2 separate regions of the Homo sapiens genome follow, and region 2 is linked to region 1. Evidence: promoter capture Hi-C in 16 types of primary human blood cells and fetal thymus (Javierre and others, 2016). All regions are on one chromosome and are shown on one strand. Each heading gives the region's core, a stretch centred on a gene start or on the middle of the fragment in contact. The rest is flanking DNA. Distances are from core to core; before and after follow the strand shown. Region 1 holds the start of BCL7C (BAF chromatin remodeling complex subunit BCL7C). Region 2 holds the start of ARMC5 (armadillo repeat containing 5).

Region 1 (3,088 bases), core at 258-2,757:
GTATTAACTGTAAATATTTATTGGGCATTTACCATGTGCTGGGCACTGTTCTAAGAGCCATATGCACATTAACTAACTCCTGTGTTATAGATGCGGAATAGAGAGAAGTGACTTGTCCAGGGTAACACAGTTAGGTGTGGCACAACTGGGATTTTACCTAAGCAGCTTGGCTCAAAAAAATGCTGTCTTAACCATGCTCCTAACCCCTTATACCCTTAACCTCTGGACATGGTCACGCCCAAATTCACAGACACAACAGCCACACCTTGAAACACACACACACACACAACAGCAGCACAAATTTTGACATGGTCTTATCTGCTGACAAGCCAGCCTCAAATAAAGTCAACAAAGACACACTCATTTTATTTAAGTAATGTACATTTTATTTAAGTCATGTGATGGATTTTCACAGAATACATATGCCCAGGGAACCAGCACCAGATTACACAACAGAACTGGATCAGCTCCCAGAAGCTCTCCCCTCGTCCCCTCCCAACCCTAAGGGCGATCACTATCTTGACTTTGGTGCACTATAAATTAGTTTTGTCTGGTTCTGAACGTAATACACCTGGAACCATCTAGTATGTACTGTTGCATTTGGCTTCTGTCACTCAAGATTTCATCATGCGACTTGTCTATGTTGCTGTGTGTAGCCGGGCATGTCAATCCCGTTGCTGTGTCTATGTGCATGGTAGTGAGTAGGGCATCATTCATTTTCCATTCTGTTGATGGGTTATTTCCAGTTTGGGGCTGTTATGAAAGGGCTCTGAACATTCCCATGCACCCTCTTGATGCTCACACCTACACATTTCTGCTGGGTGTTGACAGCCTAGGAGTGGAACTGCTGGATCACAGAGGTGGCATATGTTCGGCTTCATTAGAAAACTGCCAGTTTTCCAAAATGTCTCTACCAATTTACACTCCCCCAGAAATACAAGAGAGGTCCAGTCGCTCTACTTTCTCGCCTCCACACGGTGCGGTCTTTTTCACTTTAGCCATTCTGGTGGTGGAGACCCACTCGTATTCGCAGCGCCTGGAGCGTAATTGGCACTCAGTTAACAAGACTGTTGAATGAATGGATGACTGAGTAAGTTGGGCGGTGTAGACCAACAGCCTGGCGAGGGCGGACACACGCACGCACTCCACACACAGCGTTTCGCGGACACCCACCGCGGCTCACGCAGCGCAGGACACAGACCCTGTCGCGCACCCCGCGCCCACGTGGTCTGAACACACGGCCTCGGCCCTGCCTCGCGCGTCCGGTCGCAACTCCCGCTCTCCGTCCCCAACTCGCGCGTCCGTCCCCAACTCCCGCTCTCGGCGGCGGGCAGGGGGCGCTGAGCGTCCAGGCGCTCCAAGGGGGCGGGCCCGGGTCGGGGCGGGGCCGGCCGGGCTTCCAGGCCTGGGCTCTGGCCGCCCGCGCCACCGGGCCGCTCCGGGGACAGGCCGGGGCGGGGCGCGGCGGCAGGAAACGGGGCGGGGACTTGCGGAGGCGTTGGGGACGAGAGAGGGCGCGGCCAACTCCAGGGGGGACGGCAGGCCGAGAGCGCGGCGCCCGGGCCTGGCGCGGAGCCTGAGCCCGCCGGACGGGAGGCGGCCCCGCCGCGGGCTCGGCCCCGGCCCCAGCCCCGCCAGCATGGCCGGCCGGACTGTACGGGCCGAGACCCGGAGCCGGGCCAAGGATGACATCAAGAAGGTGATGGCGACCATCGAGAAGGTCCGGAGATGGTGAGCGCTGCTCGGGGGCCAGGGACGGGACACAGCGGGACCACCAGCACCAAAGGCGTCTACGCTGCCCTCGCCAGCTCTGGGCCCCGGGTGTTCGGTGTATCTCCACCCACTAGCTTTGCCCTGGATCCACAGGGCTCTGTCCCCGTTCGCCTGGCTACTCCTGGGGGTCTACAAAGCGTGATCCCCAGCCGTGTCCTCCCAGAGCGGGAGCCCCCTCTTGTGCCCCGCCCCCTAAAGCTTTGACACCCCTCCTGCAGGTGCGCCCCAGGATCTGCAGGGCTCTGATCCCGGGCCAGGCCCATAGCCACGCCCCCCATGTGTGCCCCAGGGGTCCGCAGAGCCAGGGCCCCAAATCATATCCTCTCTCTAGAGGCACCCACCGCCTATGCCCTGGGGTTTGCAGGACTCTCTTCCTCCATGTAACTATGCCCCATTAGCAAAACTGTTGCTATCCTCCTGTGCCTCCTCAACCTCTGCAGGTACCCCCAGATGTGTCCAGCTCCTAGGGGGGTGGGTCTCCCCTCAGGCCTCTCTGACCCAGCCCCCCACCCTCCCACAGGGAGAAGCGATGGGTGACTGTGGGCGACACTTCCCTTCGTATCTTCAAGTGGGTGCCAGTGGTGGATCCCCAGGAGGAGGTGAGCAACCCCCATTCCCACAAGGCCCTGCATCTGTGCAACCTCAGGCAAGTTCCTCCCCACGCTGACCTCTACCTCCAGCTCCCCGAGACCTCAGATGCAGCAGGACAGACGGGAACCATCATTAGCAGCTCCTCCCCTTTTGCCCTCTTTTCTGCTCCACACCCCCTGAGTTTGAGCCCTTTTGCTTCTCAGTGCCTCAGTTTCCTTAGGTGTATGGTGGGGCTTTCCAAGAGCTCTGACCCTAATCCTCTAACCCCCAGGAGCGAAGGCGGGCAGGTGGCGGGGCAGAGAGATCCCGTGGCCGGGAACGTCGGGGCAGGGGCGCCAGTCCCCGAGGGGGTGGCCCTCTCATCCTGCTGGATCTTAATGGTAGGTAGGGATCCTGAAACGCGGGGGGCTGTGGGGACTGAAGGAGTGTACTAGGGATCTCAGGCCAACCATCTCGGCTCTTGCTCCCGCAGATGAGAACAGCAACCAGAGTTTCCATTCGGAAGGTTCCCTGCAAAAGGGCACAGAGCCCAGTCCTGGGGGCACCCCCCAGCCCAGCCGCCCTGTGTCACCTGCCGGACCCCCAGAAGGGGTCCCTGAGGAGGCTCAGCCCCCACGGCTGGGCCAAGAGAGAGGTAGGACCAGGTACCTCCCAGGAGCTCTCTCCTCTAAGTCCTGTCTTCTCCAGAGTCTAACCTACCAGCTCATCCCTATACCTGCTCCCC
Region 2 (3,088 bases), core at 349-2,848, 570 kb before region 1:
ATGCATTATGGGGAAAGAATAGGAAGGGGGGAGTCAAAAGGCTGTCATAATAGTCCAAGCATGAAAAGACAATAGCTTGAACCAACCCAGCTACTGGCATCACACAGCACAGAGATACCAGTCTCTGGGCACACAATGGAAGTAGGAAGAGAGAGAAGCAGATAAATTCAGAAGATATTTAAGATGAAAAATAGTAGCTGAATGATGGGGGTTATTTAATAACCAAAGCTCTTGTCAAACATATATGGTCCAGATACATTTTATGTAAATTTTAAATATATTAATGCTTCCCTTTATCCGAAAAGTTAAGATGTCATCAAAACTAGCATAATTTCGTGGAAGGCAGGTAGTGACATGTAAACTGCTTTCACACATTGCCACTAGGAGGCACCAATTTAGCTGGTAAACAGAAAAGCTTATGTTTTGCTAGGATTTGTTCTTACTGTGCTGGTTTTAATTATTTTTATTTATTTTTTCCTGCTTCCTAAGCGACTACTGATTTGTTTGGTTTTCTAAGATACGAGGTCTTGTTACGTTGCCCAGGCTGGAATGCAGTGGCTATTCACAGGCAGTCATTGTTCACTGCAGCCTCAACCTCCTAGGCTCAAGGGATCCTCCCGCCTCAGCCTCCCAAATAGCTGGAACTACAGGCGCGTACCACTGCACCCAGCTTATGCTAGTTTTTAATAACTTGAAATACGTATCATGCTTAGAATATTTGCATATTCGTGCCATATTTGTACTTCGTTTTCTCCCCACTCTGATTTTTTTAGGTAGCTATTATTGCCCCATTTTACAAGGAATCCTAGCCTCGGAGGGGTTAGGTGACTTTTGCAGATCTCCCTTTCTGAACCACTACACCTTCCAGCTCATCAGTGGGGCTTCAGAACCTTGCACAGGGCCGGACACATAGTTGGGCACTGAATGTCTGCTATGAACATCATAACTGGACGGTAAGAATCATCTGAAAAAATCACCAAATAACTCTTTGGCCTCCGCTAGTCCAGCTTCGAAAGAAGTCCTCAACAACCAATTCCTAGATAATGGCTACAATTATCTGGTCTGGGAGGGCTCTCTCTCATCTATAGAGAGTGCAGTGACGTCACGGGGCACAACAGATTGAGAAACAGGAGCGATGCGCCATCACAAAGCACGTTATTCCGGGATAGGACACAAAGAACTCCAGACTGCCCGGGTCTAGAGAGCAAGGGAGTTGCAAACCTAATCTTTCTAGGAAACGGGGGCGGAGCACTTACCCAAAGGGAGTATGCCTCCGAGTCTGCGCACTTCGGTCCGGCACGCCCCTTCCGTACAGCAATCGGCTAGGATGCTGAGCGCCAAGTCCAGCGTCTTGCGCAGGCGCACTGGCGGCGTAGGACTAGACGACGACACAGCGGAGGGGGCGGGGCCCGACGCGGGGGCGGGGCTAGAAGCTCCCGACGCGGCCGACGAGGGGGCGGAGCCGGGGCCTGCCTGGGACGGGGCGGAACCCGCTGCAGCCGCTCGCCGTAGCAGCGCGAGTAGGGGGCGGAGCCCGCCGCGTGCCCGGAAGCGCTCGATTCCCCCCGCTGCCTTGATGTGGCGCGTGCGGAGGGCTAGGAGCGCGCGGCTCAGGGGTGTCTCGTTGGTCGCTGGGTCCTTTTCCCCACCCAGAGCCTCCCCGGCCGCCGCCGCGAGCTGCGCGAGGCAGAACGAGAGCGAGTCCGTGAGGGTTGGCTTCGCAGCCGCCATCTTGGCTCGGGCCTCAGACTCCGCCCCGCTTCTCGCCGCTGATCCCAGGGAGCGGAACTGGAAGACAGGGAAATCGTCGGGCACCGCCTCGCTGACGCTGTTTAGCGCCACCGCAGTGATGCAAGTCGGAAGTTGTAGTTCTCGACCCCGGAAGTCTGTCCTTGCACACGAGGCGCGGCAGTACCTTAATCGCAGCGCATCCTGGGACGTGCGGGCGGTGCATGAGGGAGATGTGGTCCGCGTCGAGCTTCTCACGCCTACCTCGGGAAGCGCTGGAAACTCTTCCAGGGCCCTCCAGGTGGGCCAGGGCCTCCGAACAGCCCAGAAGTCCGACCACGGAGCCTTCGTGCCGTGCCCCGCCCCCGGCGTGCACTCGGCGGGGACCGCCTTTTCTCCTCTAGGCTCGCTTCGCTGCCCCCCAGCGGTGGTGCGGCCCGGCCTTGGGACGGACTCCGAGAACCCCGAGCCGGGCCGAAAGTGCGGGGTCCTGACCGCGCCGCAGACGGGGAGCCCTCGCTCGGTCAGAGGAAGAAGAGGGTTAAACCTACCGAGAACGTTCGCTGCCGCTTCCTAGAGTGACGGGCTTGTGGAATTTTCCGTTTCCGGAGCTGGACCCCGGTGTCCCGAGTGTCCTCCGCTCTGGACGTGCTCGTGAGCTCAGGAGCTGGCATCTAGGAAACGGGGAGTTCTTCACTCGCAGCGCAGTCGGCCGCGCCAGAAGAGGCGAGGGAGAATCCGGACGGGGCGGGGCGGCGGGGGAGCGGGACATTCGCGTCCCGGGGAGCCCCCAGGTCACCCCTGGATTGCGAGGTGGCTCCGCCTGAGCAGCCCTTCCTGGTGTGGTCGGGGCAGCTGCCCGCCCGGAAAATGGTCAGGCTCTAGCCCTGGGGAGGAAGAAGCCTTTGCCAAGAGCAACCGTCTACAAGCCCCAAAACCTGCGAGTGCCGGAAATGTGGACTGACCACAGCCTGCCTCCCCGGCTTCATTCACCACCAAGGCAGCCCCTCTGGTGACAAGCCTTACCGTTGTCCGGGTTATGGCAGAAGCTTCCGATGTGGCTCTGATCTGGTTAAGCACCACTGGGTACACACCGGTGAAAAGCCGTACTCCTGCCCCGAGTGTGACCATCGCTTCGGCCCTATGCCTGTGCCTAGTGTGGTAAGACTTTCAGCGTCAGCTCCAACCTGATCCAGCACCAGCGCGCTCACACCGCTAAAAGCCTTACCGCTGAGGGGACTGCGGCAAGAGTCTCAGCCTTGGCTCCACCCTGTTGCAGCACCTGCGCTCCACATGGGTGAGAAGGCCTCTAAGTGCCTTGTTTGTAGTAAGAGTTTTGTGCACAGTTGGAATCTGCTGC

The links. Contacts are between HindIII fragments. The CHiCAGO score rates a contact against its expected background, and 5 or more counts as called.
Region 2: a fragment that was not itself captured here is called in contact with the fragment with the promoter of BCL7C in region 1 in 5 of 17 cell types (naive CD4 T cells, fetal thymus, non-activated CD4 T cells and 2 more); the score reaches 8.2 in naive CD4 T cells.

What each region holds. Positions count from the first base shown.
Region 1 is chr16:30,892,496-30,895,583 of GRCh38, reverse strand. It overlaps BCL7C (BAF chromatin remodeling complex subunit BCL7C), which reads left to right and starts at 1,507. Exons shown (of 6, transcript NM_004765.4): 1 at 1,507-1,731; 2 at 2,294-2,372; 3 at 2,636-2,744; 4 at 2,837-2,998. The coding sequence starts at 1,640. MIR762HG (MIR762 host gene) reads right to left here. Exons shown (of 3, transcript NR_110942.1): 3 at 364-1,036. MIR762 (microRNA 762) reads right to left here and starts at 1,681; the gene lies at 1,599-1,681. RefSeq lists enhancers at 1-306, 2,050-2,379, 1,918-2,550 and a silencer at 1,190-1,669. The HindIII fragment of the contact is 7,734 bases long and covers 1-1,973 here.
Region 2 is chr16:31,458,168-31,461,255 of GRCh38, reverse strand. It overlaps ARMC5 (armadillo repeat containing 5), which reads right to left and starts at 1,755. Exons shown (of 6, transcript NM_001105247.2): 1 at 1,257-1,755. The coding sequence starts at 1,731. RefSeq lists a silencer at 1,207-1,556 and enhancers at 1,747-2,086, 2,085-2,625. The HindIII fragment of the contact is 2,362 bases long and covers 418-2,779 here.